6 separate regions of the Homo sapiens genome follow, and all the other regions are linked to region 1. Evidence: promoter capture Hi-C in human tissues and cell types (Jung and others, 2019). All regions are on one chromosome and are shown on one strand. The core of a region is centred on a gene start or on the middle of the fragment in contact, and the rest is flanking DNA. Distances in the headings are between cores, read along the strand shown.

What was found. The method cuts DNA at HindIII sites, captures the fragments that hold promoters and counts their contacts. A contact is called where the count stands out against the background at its distance.
Region 2: a fragment that was not itself captured here is called in contact with the fragment with the promoter of SPATS2L in region 1 in 1 of the 25 tissues and cell types used here (hippocampus).
Region 3: a fragment that was not itself captured here is called in contact with the fragment with the promoter of SPATS2L in region 1 in 6 of the 25 tissues and cell types used here (IMR-90 fibroblasts, aorta, bladder and 3 more).
Region 4: a contact is called between a fragment that was not itself captured here and the fragment with the promoter of SPATS2L in region 1, in 1 of the 25 tissues and cell types used here (H1 embryonic stem cells).
Region 5: a contact is called between a fragment that was not itself captured here and the fragment with the promoter of SPATS2L in region 1, in 2 of the 25 tissues and cell types used here (bladder and mesendoderm cells).
Region 6: a contact is called between a fragment that was not itself captured here and the fragment with the promoter of SPATS2L in region 1, in 2 of the 25 tissues and cell types used here (H1 embryonic stem cells and heart right ventricle).

The regions. Positions count from the first base shown.
Region 1 is chr2:200,305,435-200,307,953 of GRCh38, forward strand. SPATS2L (spermatogenesis associated serine rich 2 like) reads left to right here and starts at 1,259. Exons shown (of 13, transcript NM_001100423.2): 1 at 1,259-1,488. RefSeq lists an enhancer at 634-733 and silencers at 1,144-1,873, 1,894-2,223. The HindIII fragment of the contact is 4,989 bases long and covers 1-2,519 here.
Region 2 is chr2:200,534,792-200,537,310 of GRCh38, forward strand. It overlaps SGO2 (shugoshin 2), which reads left to right. Exons shown (of 9, transcript NM_152524.6): 3 at 205-380; 4 at 1,274-1,351. Among named protein-coding and RNA genes, the nearest start is that of SGO2, 9.8 kb to the left of the region's middle. The HindIII fragment of the contact is 3,825 bases long and covers 1-2,519 here.
Region 3 is chr2:200,093,829-200,096,347 of GRCh38, forward strand. All of the region lies in intron 1 of LOC124906112 (a long non-coding RNA gene), which reads right to left. Among named protein-coding and RNA genes, the nearest start is that of MAIP1, 140 kb to the left of the region's middle. The HindIII fragment of the contact is 5,638 bases long and covers 1-2,519 here.
Region 4 is chr2:200,111,950-200,114,468 of GRCh38, forward strand. The region is part of intron 1 of LOC124906112 (a long non-coding RNA gene); the gene reads right to left. Among named protein-coding and RNA genes, the nearest start is that of MAIP1, 160 kb to the left of the region's middle. The HindIII fragment of the contact is 3,372 bases long and covers 1-2,519 here.
Region 5 is chr2:200,134,821-200,137,339 of GRCh38, forward strand. All of the region lies in intron 1 of LOC124906112 (a long non-coding RNA gene), which reads right to left. Among named protein-coding and RNA genes, the nearest start is that of SPATS2L, 170 kb to the right of the region's middle. The HindIII fragment of the contact is 4,189 bases long and covers 1-2,519 here.
Region 6 is chr2:200,171,551-200,174,069 of GRCh38, forward strand. The region is part of intron 1 of LOC124906112 (a long non-coding RNA gene); the gene reads right to left. Among named protein-coding and RNA genes, the nearest start is that of SPATS2L, 130 kb to the right of the region's middle. The HindIII fragment of the contact is 5,433 bases long and covers 1-2,519 here.

The DNA of each region.
Region 1 (2,519 bases), core at 9-2,508:
TCTGTTAAATAAATTATATTATCCACACACCAATCCAAGGCGACTATAAGGTAGCAAGAACCACTCCAAGTCACATAAGAAAATGAATTCCTTTCGTTTTAGCTCCTCTCTTTATTTCAGCAGTGCGTTGTCAACAGGGCCACATTATGTTAGCAGATTTGAACTTTATCCGAAAGGTGTTTGTATTTTATTTCAAATTATGAATTCCTGAACATCGGATTATGTACGATTCTGCAGTGCCCTCGGAGGCCCATTAGAGTCTGGAGCTCGAGAAGCATAACAAACTCTGGTCTGATATTTGTAAGGAGCTTGACAGCCAAGGAGCCACTCAGAAACAGTTATTGGTATTGCCAAAAAAAAAAAAAAAAAAGGAAGCTAAGAAGTCACCCTTCTAAATAAATAAATAAATAAATAAATAAATAAAAACCTGAATTGGAGAGCTGCCTGCATTTCACTCTACTGCCTCTGGAAGAAGAGTGTTATCTAAAGTGCTTCCATCATGAATAATGATTGAGAAACTGCTTTTACTCTCCCGACTACTGTACTCCCAGGCAGAAACCCACGGCTGAAGCCCACGATGCCCATGTGTAACTTGGTTATTACACACACGTTTGGAGCCCAGTGTGCAGACCCGCAGCGCAGAGGAGGCGGCGGAACACCCCGGGTTGGTCGGGTTTCCAAGGGCTGACCCGAGCTCCAGCACTTTTTCCGCGCCTGATTTTTCAGGTCATTTTCGAATGGGCTATCTTTGCTTACATTTTGAGCTTGGATCCTCTCCAGAAAGCATTACTACCTTCTAAAAGGAAAAACATCTCGTATTTGCAGACAGTGCTGAGGGAGCAAAGTTCATTTTCTCGGGTAGGAGAAGATGATTCTCTTGCAACACGTGCGGATTGTGACAAAATCTTTCATTAACAAGGGGAGTTTCGGTGAAGTGGAGGTTTGGGGAAAGGCGAGGAAGTCGGTCTGGAGCAAGCAAGCAAAGTGCGGAAGCTGTACTGGGATTCTTCTAGAAAGTGGGGTGGGAAAGGAGCTAGGGAGGGCGTGTGGAGGGACGAGATCTGTGTCAGAACGTGCGTGTGAGCGGATACAAAACCCGAGAGAGGCGTGAGCAGCGCTGTGTTTGCGAGCGGGAGCGAGGGGCGCCGGCTGGGGTGTGTGCTCCTGGTGAGTGACACCGAGGGGAAGGCGGGCGGGTCGGCGGGCGGGGGCAGCCTGCGAGGGGCGGGAGTGTCCCTGCGTGGGGCGGCCGAGCCGGAGTTGTGTCAGTGAAGGAATCCAGTCCGGGGGCCGAGCTGGCTGCGCCCTCCGCTGCAAGCGCCGGCAGCGCGGGGCGAGCTCCGGACGGCGCGCGGCCCAGGCAGCGGCTCCCGCTCGGCCCGCCCTCCGAGCCGCAGGGGCCGCCACCGCCGCGGCGCCTCCCCTGGCGACCGCGCCCCCGGGCCCCGGCTCCGGCCCGGGACGGAGGAGCCGGCGCTCGACACAGAGGTAAGCCCAGGACCCCCTCCACGCCGGGCCGGCTGGGGATGCAGGGCGCGGGCGGACGCGGAGGGGCCTGCGCGGCCGGGACGGAGACTCGGCTGGGCCGAGCATTCCGCAGCCCGGGCCGCCCAGCCTCCGCCGCCTCCCGGAGCGCTGGGTGTGGCCCGCGCTCGGCGCCGAGGCGGGCTGGTGGCGCGGACCGGACGCGAAGGTCGCCGTCCTTCCTTTCTCCAGCCGGCGCGGGCAAGCGGGAGGAGGCGCCGGCTGGGACGCACAGTGGCGCTCCCCGGGCGAGCGTGTGGCCGCCGCGCTCCGACGTGTACCCGCCCGCCCCGGATCTGAATCGCCCGCGGCCGCCGTCCCTCGCCTGCCGTCCTCCCGCGCGGGCGCCCCCGTTCCCTCCCAAGCCGGAAAGAGACCCACCGTCCCCCAGGCTGCTCTCTGGCCCGGAGCCGCAAAGCCCACGTCAGCCGCGACCACCCCGCCCTCGGATCCCAGCCGGGTGCGGGGGCCGCGGCCCCACTGAACCCCGCGCCCCTGGCGCCCAGCGGGAGTGGGATGCGTTGGCGTCCGCGCTGCGCGGGTGGGCTGGGGTGGCCGGAGCAGACGCGGAGCGCCCTGGCCGCGGGACGAAGCGGTCGCGCCGCCGCATTTGGGCGGGGGGACCCCGGAGTCCGCGGGCTGCGGACCCCAGCGGGAGACGGGGTTGTCGTAGGATGCGCTCGCGCTGGACGCCGGCGCACTCTGAATATCATGCTGCCGCACACGCGGGGCTGAAGGGCCGAGTCTTCACCTGCGCGGGGATGCGGCGGAAGCGTCGCGTCTTCGCGAGTGGAGGTTTCGTGTTCCCGCGGGGTTGGTGTGTTTTTGAACTTCACGAGCTTCTCATCCCCCCCGCAATCCTGGTTTTAGCAGATGTCGGGGTTTTGGAGACCTGACACTTTTCGTGAAAGATTCTTTCTGTACGTTTTCTTTTGGCTATATTACAGGGTTTGTAGCTTGAGAACTAGTGAAAACCCTTGAACTTCAAACACAGT
Region 2 (2,519 bases), core at 9-2,508, 230 kb after region 1:
ATTCTTCATCTTCTGTCTAGCTTTCATTTCCTCACCTCTAAACTCTGGGTTTATTTTTCTCAAAACTACATCTGTATTGTTATTCCCTTTTCTAATCTTCAGTTAAAACTTGTGAAATGCATTTTGTCTATGTTTTACTAAGGAATATAAAAATTTCTTAAGGTATAAGCTGAATATTAACTCATTTTAAAAATCTTTTTACAGATAATTCTTCTATTTTCAAAATATCTTTAAAGCACAACAACAGGGCATTAGCTCAGGCTCTTAGTAGAGAAAAAGAGAATTCTCGAAGAATTACAACTGAAAAGATGCTATTGCAAAAAGAAGTAGAGAAACTGAATTTTGAGAACACATTTCTTCGCCTAAAGCTAAATAACTTGGTATGTAAGCTATATTGTTTTTGAATTCTAATTATAACTTAAATCTTTTAGCTGCATTATTATAGAAGCTTTAAAAATATTTTTCAAATCTCCAATAGTGAAAAATTATTGAAAGTCAGTATACCATGTAAGTCTATGTCAAAGTACAAACTGTTAATGGGTAATAAAATATGTGTTTTAAATCTACATTCTAAATGTGTGCTTGTGTGCTGTGTAAACCAGTATAATACTTTGACCAACATTCGATTGCTAATCATAAACAAAGCTTGGTACATTAATACATTTTTAAAAGATGGTCATAGTTCTTCCGGTGTTCTTGAAAGGAAAGGAATTCCCAGAATGTTGTTATTCTTTTTTAATCTCAGCATTTACCTGGCTACAAGCTAAACAGAATGAGAATTATAGTTGTTTCTTTTCCTTCCAAATTTCAACTCTGTTCACAGACAGGACAGTGAGAGCCAATGATTAGCTAGGCTGCAACTATAGATCTAAATCTAAAATGAGTAGAACTTTTTATAATGGAAAAAGGACCTACTCTACTTGTGGGTTTAATTCCGGTGGCTGACAAACTGTTCTCTTGCCATGTGATATATTACTATGAGAAGATAGAAAAATGTTTATAGGAAAACAAAATTGTTCTAAAGTATTCAACATATGTGTGTGTGTGTGTATACATGTATGTATGTATGATATGTATGACTATTTGGACTATATAATACTATTTGGTACTATATAATATACCATTTTAGCTGAATGTGATCTCAATTTTTAGCTCAATATGATATCAACTATTTTTTAAGTTTTCTCACATGGATGGCATTCATAAATGCCTGATATTATAATAAATTACAAGTCTTAACTGATTAAAAGGGGTCTTTATTTTACATGTGCAGAATAAGAAGCTTATAGACATAGAAGCTCTCATGAACAATAACTTGATAACTGCAATTGAAATGAGCAGTCTTTCTGAGGTAAGTAGAATTTATATGTAAATAGTGTTGTTCTTTAGATTACTGAGGATCACTGAGATTACTTAAATAACATCAAGGTTAGAGATTCACATTTCAAGTTTTGTGCAAAGGACTGATGATAATATCAGTTTTAACTGGCTAACAGCATATTATCATTTTGTATAATTGGTTATTGAAAATGTCATATGAAAATTAGGTTTTTATTAAAAGTAACAGGATTAGACAGGTTAGTGGAACATACTGGCTCCTAAATGGACTCAGAAACATAAAGACATTAGTAGAAAGGAAGCATTTTAAGTGAGGAAAGACTTTGGGGTTTTTGTTTTTTGTTTGTTTGTTTTAAAGATGGACACAATTGAAAAACTGGGGAAAAAAATAGAGGCTGGTCCTACTTTATACTGTTTTCTAAAACAAATTCTAAATTTCCCAAATGCTTTTCATGTGGTTCTTTTTGGAGAATTCAGAGGGCTGAGGTCAACATCTAGATTAAGGAAAAGTAAAAACTGGACAGCAGGTAGATGGAGAAGCTGGAGGTGAAGGCACAGTATACATTCTTGGTAGCTACCTTCTTGAACTTACTATTTAACAGACTAACTTTTGCATACCAAGCTTTAAAATTCTTTTTCTTTCTAGTTGTTACTAAGTGGGGCAGGTGATGGGTCATATAGACGTACTGTTCTAACATCAGAACGAGATAAGAAAAGTATAGAATAAAGTTTCACACATGCTTTTGTCCGCCTTCAGCTACTTTCTTCTCCGTTCTGTCTTCTCCTTGTACCTCATGCAGGTGATTGCTTTCATCTATTTCTTTATATAAAAACAAACAAACAAAATAAATATTTTCTTACTTTTCTTCTTTACACAAAAGATAGCATGCTATACCAGATGTTCTATACCTTTTTATGTGACATATCTTGGGGATCTCTCCATATGATTATGTGGAGTGATTCCTCATTCTCTTTTGGTGCTGCTTTGGATAGATCCAGAGTGGACTTGTAATCTACCTCACTAGGCTCCTGTTGTTGGACACTTGGGTTATCCTTTGCTGTTGGCTTGTGTTAGTGTAGAGTGCCTTTCCCTCTTGCATCATTAATTTTTTCCCTCCCTTCTGGATTATTCCCATCAGGATGCAAAAATGTTATCATCTCTCATCTTAAAAAATAAATAA
Region 3 (2,519 bases), core at 11-2,510, 210 kb before region 1:
TAAAACTGAATCTTCTTCATGTTTGTATCACTGTGTCCAATAGTCACTTATAGAGTTCAATGTATGTTTGAAGAATGAATGAATCCTGGGAATTGCCTGATGTAGCACTGTTTCTGTGTAGAACCAACTTTAACGCAGAGATGTAATAATCATGTGCAAAAGGAGAAATAACACTCATATGGGGAGACTTTACACTCATTCCAAGATAAAGATGAAAATCACATTAATTGTTTAAGCATGGGCTCCATTCAGAACCTTCAGGTTGGGAGCTTTGAGCCCATTGGTATTTTATATTTATTTACACATGGCAAAATCTGGTTTCCTGTTTTCAGAGAAAATGTTTTTCACAAAGCTTTATTAAAATGTTCAAACAGTCTCACAGACATCATATCTCTCTCACAACACAACTCTTTAGTATAAACAAATCAGAAATGCAAGGACTAAATTCCCCTTCTAGCATATGTGGGCTTAAAAAGAAAGCAACCATGCTTGACAAAATAAGCTCTGAGCTTTATTCCACCTCTGTTTAGATGGAAGCTCAAGACCCCCAGTCAACCAGAGATGCATCAAGGGCCCCCTATGCCAACTGCAAGAAATCAGAGAAAGAGGGAGGGAATGCACGGAAGGAGATGAGCCAGAACAACACTTCAAGCCAAATGCTTTCATCTTCTACACAATAAGAGGAAAAAGCTTGAGTAGATGTCATTAGCACATCAGCTGGGCTGGGCACCCATTCTTATTTTTTCAAATAAATAGGCTTAAAAGCCAGGCCCTCTTATTACCAGTATATAATTCCTATCGACATGGAAAGGGGTAAGCAGGGTTTTTTGTTGTTTTATTTTTAAATGAATGATAGTTTGGGAGTCTGAAATCAGACACAGCAGGGAGAAAACAACTGCATGTGTTTTCTCCGAAATGCAACAGTACACGCATATCGAAGTGACTGGCTGTCACCGCTATAATGTCACCATCTTCCCTAAAGTGAACAATTGGGAAACAAACAATTGGGAAATTAGAAGATGGCTTTTTTGCGATTCTCCCTTCTGAAGGTCTAGACTGCTCTTGCTTATGTGTACAATAGATCCACTAACAAAGAAAATTTTGAAAGCACAGCACATATGCTCATCTGTACATTCTGAAAGCCACATGGGATTTTTTTTCCTACATTTTAGCTTACTTTCAGAAGCTGAAGCTGTCATTAAGTAAAGGGAAAAGGCTGCTTTCAAGCATGAATCATTTTTCACAGACTTCATTAAAATAAAATAAACGTCTTTGCTAGTTAGTGAAAGGCAGTCGGGGAGGGTGGGAAAGGAAACTCTAACTCTCCCTTCTGTGCTGAAGATAAGGAAAGATGGTTCCATTCCTGCCTTTTAAAAGAGGTGGAAGACGACACATCCATCCTAAAGACAGATAAAATGAAACACGAGGATGTCATTGGAGATAGACTGGCACAGGGACTCAAAATAAATCAACAGCAGAAGCACGGACAGAATTTCGGTTTTCTGATTCCAAGGCTAGTGTTTTGTACCCTAGGTTTAGGGATGCTTCCAAGTTTGAGGCCAGGTATAAGCAGTTTCCTACTTTATGTACAACATATTCCAGAAAATGTTACCAAAATTGAAGGTTCAAAAACTAGACTCATATATTTTAAGGGAGCTTCTCTTCCCAGATGACATGGTTTGGCTGTGCTCCCACCCAGATCTCATGTTGAATTGTAGTTCCCATAATCCCCATGTGTTGTGGGAGGCACTCGGTGGGAGGTAATTGAATCATGGGAGCAGTTGCCTCCATGCTGTTCTCGTGATAGTGAGTGAGTTCTCTGAGGTCTGATGGTTTGATAGGGGCCTTTTCCCCTCTTCGCTCTGCACTTCTCCTTGCTGCCACCATGTGAAGAAGGACATGATTTGCTTCCACTTCTGCCATGATTGTTAGTTTCCTGAGGCCTCCCCAGCCCTGTGGAACTGTGAGTCAATTAAGCCTCTTTCCTTTACAAATTACCCAATCCTGGGTATGTCTTTATTAGCAGCGTGAGAATGGACTAATACACCAGATTTCTGAAAGATACTACAATATCAATCTTTAATTATAACTTTTCCCCCAACAAGTTTGACAATTTGAAATAGTTTATGCATCCCCTTTTAAATTTTCAAATATTTTGACCCATCAAAAATAATAATATAAAAACATCTGTGTGTCCACCATCCAGCTTAAGAAATAAGATATTTGAAATTTAGTGGAAGCCCCCAATATTCCTTTTTCCTCCCACACCAGTGACCACTCTCCAGAATTCAATGTTTATTGCTCGCTTTTATTTGACAGATACAGGCATTCTGACAGGTGCTGTTCTATGTCATTTATAAAATCTTTACAAATACTAACAATCCTTATAATAACCAATCCTTCTAATAACCCAGTGAGTTGGAGAGTACAGTTATCCTTGTTTAACAAAGGACAAAACTATGACACAGAGAAGTTAAGCAACTTGCCTAAAGTCACACAGTTAGCAAATTACGGAGCTG
Region 4 (2,519 bases), core at 10-2,509, 190 kb before region 1:
AAATTTTTTGTAGAGATGGGGTCTCACTATATTGCCCAGGCTGGTCCTGAATTACTGGACTCAAGCAATTCTCCCACCTCGGCCTCCCAGAGTGCGATTACAGGTGTAAGCCACTGTGCCTGGCCCGTCTTTATCATTATAGCTGCACTCTCAGCCTCAGTTCTGGTCTCCTGCCCTTTTCACTTCTCACTCTCAACAATATTCAGTCACTTGACCACTCTGGCCTCACCATGTCTCATAACCCTCCCTGCAAGCCCAGCCCACTGCACAGATGTTATCAATCATCAAATTTAGTAGTTTTTCTTTAAAAATCCCTCAAAACCTGTTTCTTCCTTCAAAATTTTACTGCCACTCCTCAGACAGGCCGGTCTACCTCACATGTACCCCACAGCAGCATCTTAAGTCCTTCTCTCTCCTTCCAGCTGGCCAGAGTCTGATTCAGTCACATCACATGGGACAGCAAGAACCAGGTCAGGAGCAAGAGACGGGTTTCCAGGGACCTGAAGTCCTAGGAACCCCCATAAATGTGAGGAGAGATATTAGGCTGTATGCAGGCTTTTGACTGTATGAGGGTTGGTTCCTCCTTGCAAAAGGCAAGAAGTCCAGGATGTCAATGATGCAAGCAACCTTATCACCTTGACCATGGACAAAGGGAGTTTTCCAGGGCCATTGAAACTGCAGGACAGCTTCAGAAACTGAGAAAACGATGCTATGCCCTTTCCAGAGTGCAGAGAGAAATGTGCTGGGAGGGTCAAGTTGCTCTTTTCTAAGTCTGATATTGTTAGAGAAGATAGCTAGGCAGACATGAGTAGGGCAGGAGAGGGCTTCCCCTCCAGGAATGTGAGACAACTATCAGGTGATGGTCAGATGGTTATCAAACTGTCTCTCTAAAATGATAATTCATTGCAGCTGGTGCCAGGGAACGGCTGTCTCCCAGAAGACAGAAAATACCTAAGGCTGGTGATCAGCATCTTCCCAATAAGATCTCAGGAGTTGGGTGAGCAGGCTTAAGCACGTGCACTAGAGGCAAAATAGAAGAGTTTAACTGTTATATGACCTTCCTCTAGCAATACTCGATTGTTAAGGGAAAAATGCCTCAAACGAGCATGCACACAACTTCAGTAAACACACCACCGCCTGCAGCCCCTTCCAAGTGCTGGCAGGCCACTGCACATGCAAAGAGCCTGCCCCAAGGAAAAATCAAGGGAGGAGAGATGCAAACCCTGGAAGCATGCCAATGATAAAACTCCAAATCAAGGGTCAGACGGGGCACTTGCATCTCTCAAGTCACACGATTGGCCTTCTTCCAAGTGTACTTTACTTCCTTTTGTTCCTGCTCCAAAACTTTTTTTTTTTAATACTTTAAGTTCTAGGGTACATGTGCACAATGTGTGGTTTGCTACATATGTATACATGTGCCATATTGGTTTGCTGCACCTATTAACTCATAATTTACATTAGATATTTCTCCTAATGCTATCCCTTCCCCATCCCCTGACCCACGACAGGCCCCAGTGTGTGATGTTCCCCGCCCTGTGTCCAAGTGTTCTCATTGTTCAATTCCTACCTATGAGTGAGAACATGCAGTGTTTGGTTTTCTGTCCTGGGAACAGTTTGCTCAGAATGATGGTTTCCAGCTTCATCCATGTTGCTACAAAGGACATGAACTCATCCTTTTTTATGGCTGCATAGTATTCCATGGTGTATATGTGCCACATTTTCTTAATCCAGTCCATCATTGATGGACATTTAGGTTGGTTCCAAGTCTGCTATTGTGAATAGTGCCACAATAAACATACGTGTGCATGTGTCTTTATAGTAGCATGATTTATAATCCTTTGGGTATATACCCAGTAATGGGATGGCTGGGTCAAATGGTATTTCTACTTCTAGATCCTTGAGGAATTGCCACACTGTCTTCCACAATGGTTGAATTAGTTTACACTGCCACCAACACTGTAAAAGCTTTCCTATGTCTCCACATCCTCTCCAGCATCTGTTGTTTCCTGACTTTTTAATTATCGCCATTCTAACTGGTGTGAGATGGTATCTCATTGTGGTTTTGATTCGCATTTCTCTGATGACCTGTGATGATAAGCATTTTTTCATGTGTCTGTTGGCTGCATAAATGTCTTCTTTTGAAAAGTGTTTGTTCATATCCTTTGCCCAGTTTTTGATGGGGTTGTTTGATTTTTTCTTGTAAATTTGTTTAAGTTCTTTGTAGATTGTGGATATTAGCCCTTTGTCAGACAGGTAGATCTCAAAAATTTTCTCCCATTCTATAGGTTGCCTGTTCACTCTGATGGTAGTTTCTTTTGCTGTGCAGAAGCTCTTGAGTTTAATTAGATCCCATTTGTCTATTTTGGCTTTTGTTTCCATTGCTTTTGGTGTTTTAGTCATGAAGTCCTTGCCCACGCCTGTGTCCTGAATGGTATTGCCTAGGTTTTCTTCTAGGGTTTTTTATGGTTTTAGGTCTAACATTTAAGTCTTTAATCCATCTTGAATTAATTTTTGTATAA
Region 5 (2,519 bases), core at 6-2,505, 170 kb before region 1:
CCAGTTCTCCAACCCTCCAGAAGCCAACTAGATGTCCTACAATCCAGTTCAGTTCAGACACTATCCAGAATTAGTGCAGACCCCACAAGGTAAGGACTCAGGCCCATAAGTCTGTCCCCACTTCAGACACCAATGGCAAGTCCCCAGCCTCCTGTACTTCTGACTGACTCTCTATGTTATTACCCAATGGGTTCATCTTGCTAGCTGCATAGATAAAACCAATTCACTGAGACAGCAGTATTGCAGCAAATAAAGGATTTAATAATCAGAGGGCTAGCCAAGAGAAAGGATGGGAGTAATTATTCAAGTCATCCTCTCCAAATATTCAGAGACTGTGGTTTTTCAAAGATAGTTTGGTGGGCAGGGGGCTAGGGAGTGAGGAATGCTGATTGGTTGGGTCAGAAATGAAATCATAGAGAGTTGAAGCTGTCTTCTTGCACTGAGTCAGTTCCTAGATAGAGTCATAGGACCAGTTGAATCAGTTTCTTAGTATGGGTCATGGGTCCTGGGGTCAGCTGGTTACCAGAATGCAAACGTCTGAAAAATATTTCAAAGACCAATCTTAGGTTTTGACAATAGTAATGTTATCTTAGCAGAATTCAGGCCCGTCGCACAATCCCAATCTTTTGAGCTTTCATTAGTCCTAAAAAGGTGGTCTTTGTCCCCAAGCAAGGATTGGTTAGTTGTAGGAAGGGACTGTTATCAACGTTTTTTTAAGGTTAACAAAGGCAGTTAGCTTATGAGTTTAGAATCAAGATAGAGACAGTTAGGTTAAATTTCTCTCACTGTTGTAATTTTTGAAAAGACAATTTCTGCTATAAATCTCATGACTCCCTTCTCAAATTTGATAATTTGCTAGAATGGCCCACATAACTCAGGAAGACACTTCACTTACTATTACCAATTTATTATGAAGGATAAAACTCAAGAACAGCCAGGTGGAAGAGCTGCATAGGCCATGGTATAGGGGAGGGGCGTGGAGCATTTAGGCCCTCTCCAGGCCCACCACTCTCCTAGCACCTCTATGTGTTCACTGACCCAGAAGCTCCCCATACCCCATCATTTGGGGGCTTTATGGAGGTTCCAATACATTGGCAAGGTTGATTAAATCATTGGCTATTGATGACTGAACTCAATCTCCAGCCCCTCTCCCCTCCCAGGAGGTTGGGGTGTGGGGCTGAATGTTCCAACCCTCTAATCACATGGCTTATTCCTCTGGCAACCATACCCCATCCTGAAGCTATCTCAGGGCCTACCAAGAGTCACCTAATTAGCATAAACTCAGGTGTGGTTGAAATAGGCTCATTATGAATAACAAAAGATGCTCCACTTACCCCTATTACTCAGGAAATTATAAAGATTTTAAGAGCTCTGTGACAGGAACTGGTGACAAAGACAAAATATATATCTTTTATTATATCACAATATCACACTAACTCAAGGCCCTCAGAGATAAGGCAAGGAATACACATGAAGTATGCCAGGTTTAAGAGAACAGAAAGGCTTGGAAGCTTTCATAAACTTGAGAGTTCTTCCCAACCTAAAAGCATTCAGATTCTAAAGGTGTTAAGCACACCGAGGCTGCCAGACCACATAAATACAGGTCTCATTCTGTAAATGACTTGACAATTTGCAACATCTTGTGACTATGCTAATATTCTTTTCAGCTGTGGCATTTTCTTACTCTTGTTTTCCATGCTCTTCCTTTTCCTAAAATCTATCCCAGGTAAATGAACAGTGGGTCAACCAAAGGAGTGAATGATTTTTGACATTGTCTTGTAACCACAATAGATTCATGGCCTGACACACACAGCAGGTCAATATGCCAAGACTTCGGGTTGCAGAAGAGAAAGAGGTTTAATTGTAGGGTCACTGAATTAAAAGATGGGAGAAAACCTCAAATCAATCTCCCTGAGGAATTTGAAGTTAGGGTTTTTAAGAGTTTTGGAGTGGGCCACAGTGTGGAGATCATTGATTAATCAAAGAGTGCAGGGTGAAGTCATGGGACAGAGAGAGGAAGAAGCTGTATTCTCATGCTAATTCTGTTCCTCTGCGGGGGGGCTTCAAACTGGTTGCTGGAATTCAGGGTCTGAAAAACATCTTAAGCAATACTTAAATAAAAGCTGTATGGTTCTAACGTCAGAGATTCTGTCTGTCTGTCTCTCTTTCTCTCTCTCTATATATATATACATTTTTTTTTTTTTTTGGACACAGGGGTCTCGCTCCGTCACCCAGGCTAGAGTGCAGTGGTGTAATCATAGCTCATTGCAGTCTCAACCTCTCCAGCTCCAGCAATCCTCCTGCCTCAGCCTCTCAAGTAGCTAGGACTACAGATGCATGCCACCATGCCTAGCTATTTTTTAAAAAAATTTTTATAGGGATGGGGTCTTACTGTGTTACCCAGGCTGGTCTCAAACTTCTGGGCTCAAGCAGGCTGGTCTCAAACTTCTGGGCTCAAGCTGTCTTCCCACCTCAGCCTCCCAAAGTGTTGGGATTATAGGCATAAGCTGCCATGTCTG
Region 6 (2,519 bases), core at 12-2,511, 130 kb before region 1:
ATTTTCTCCTACCTTGAATAATCTTTCACTAGACATTGTGATGGCTCCCTTACTACCTTTAGGGTTTTGCTTAAATGTCGCCCTCTCAATATGGCCTTCTGTTCCAGTTACTTTTGTGCCATAACAAATGTCCTCAAAACTCAGTTGTTAAAAAAACAATCATTCTTATATGTTCAAGGATTCTGTGGGTTAGGAACTCAGCAAGGGCACAGTGAGAATAGCTGAGGGTGACATCACAGCTGGGAGTTGAAAACTGACTCACTCACAAGTCTAGCAATTGTGTCAGTGGATACCTCAACCAGAACACCTATATGTGGCCTCTCCATAGCTCTGTGGGCTTCCTGGCTGCATGGTGGCTGAGTTCCAAGAGTATGTCTCAAAGAGCAGCAGGCAGATGCTGTATCACCTTTTATGACCCAGCCTCAGAAGTGACACAGTATCTCTTTCACCAGAGCCATAAACGCACACAGATGGAAGGAGAGGAACAGAGAACCCCACTCCTCCCCCAACCCACCATCTAATGGGAGAAGTTTCAAAGTCACACTGTGAGGAAAGCATGTGGGATGGGTGATATCATGTTGCCATCTTTAGACATTACAATCTGGCACACCTTCCCTACTCATTTTATTTTAAGTTGCAACCACTCTCAGCCCTCAGCCTCTTCCACCTCAACACCGTCTACTCCCTTTCCTTTATTTTCCCCAGAGCATTTGTATTAGTCTCCTGTTGCTGCTGTAACAAATTATCACAAACTTAGTGGCTTCCAACAACACAAATTTATTTCCTTACAGTTCTGTAAGTTTGAAATCTGAAATCCGTTTCACTAGGCTAAAATCAAGGTGTAAACAGGGCTGCATCCCTTCTGGGCGCCATAGGGGAGAATTTGATTCCAGCCTTTCCCAGCTTCCATTGGCTTCCTGCATCCCTTGGCTGGTGGGCTTACATCACTCTTACTTCTGCTTCCATCATCACCTCTCCTTCTTATAAGGACCCTTTAGATTATGTTGGGCCCACCTGGATAATCCAGGTAAACTCTCCACCTCAAAATTCTTAACTTAGTTACATCCGTAAAGTCTCTTGTGGCAAATAAGGGAACATATTTATAGGTTCAGGGATTAGGAAGTGGACATCTTTGGGGCCCATTATTCAGCCTACCAGAGCAGTTAATCACCATTTGACACATTACATATTTTACATATTTGTTTATGTCCTGTTTAGTAGAACATAGTCTTCATCAGAGAAAAGAGTGCTCTCTTTGTTGTTGTTGTGTCCCATGAGCCTAGTAAAGTCCCTGGCATCTGTTAAAAACTCAATATATATTTGTTGAAGAATTATTTTGTCAAATAAGTGATCCATAAATATTATTGAGTGCCTACTATGTGCAGGATAATGTAGCCACACTGAAGTCTTGTTAAAACTGATTTTCCAGAGTGTTCTAAACACTCTGTACCCATAGAGAAAACCACATGTGTGATTCATCGAAATAAAAAGTCAAGGGTCTAGCCCATAACCACAATAAAAAAAAATCTTTTCCATTTCTTTTTGGACATTGTACAAAAAGTTATTGTCTCTGTCATAATAAGAGCGCAGTCTGAATCTCTGTCATCTTCCTATCCCAGTTACTCGTCCTAAATGAAAAGGGAAGACATGGGGATGGCAGAGGATTCGGACCCTGGGTCTTAATTACCTACACAGGGGTTGGGCACTGCTACTTATTTGATCTTAATTGAGCGGCCCTATGGCCCTGCTTGCGGTTTTGTTTCCATAACATTCCATGATATTTCTCCAGACAGTACACAAATAAAAATGGTTTGTGTTTCAACTGAATTTCCTGATTCTTTGTGAATCAAGCCAGATGTGTGGAAATGTCTGTGTGTGTGTGTGTGTGTGTGCGTTTAGACACTGATCCATATGCTTGCACGGATACGAATTCTGTGACCTTCTGTTCTTTCTTTTCCTTGATGATTCCTACACACAACCTCATAAGGCACATCTCATAATTAACTTGGATCTGTTTCAATCATGAATTTTTCAAAAGATCATAATCATCATGGTTTCCATGTCCATTCAGAAAACAATATAGCCGCATATGTCCATAAATGACCCGCATAGAATCTGCCCTTATCCATTTTGTTTTGGAACATGAGCCAAATTGGACTTATTTCTATTCACTTCAGATGTAATAACTTAGCCTGTTACTAAACATCACATAAAAAGCAGAATCTCAAAGCAAAAAACAGAAGCAAATACAGTTTTCTGTGTTAACTAGAGTTAGAGAATACAGGGAAAGGAAACAAAGAGTAGTTAAGAGCTTTTATTTCTCTTTAGGCTCAGTTTTCCCAGCTGTGAAGTGGGCACACTAAAATCTTTCTTGGCAACTTACTTGGCCTTTATACACTTGACTCCTTTATCCATAAAACTGATACGGTAATAATAATACCTACCCAGGAGAGGAGCTGAAAGATGAAATTAGTTTCAGATGCAAATTACTTATTTAAATGGCTGGCGCTTAGTAAACG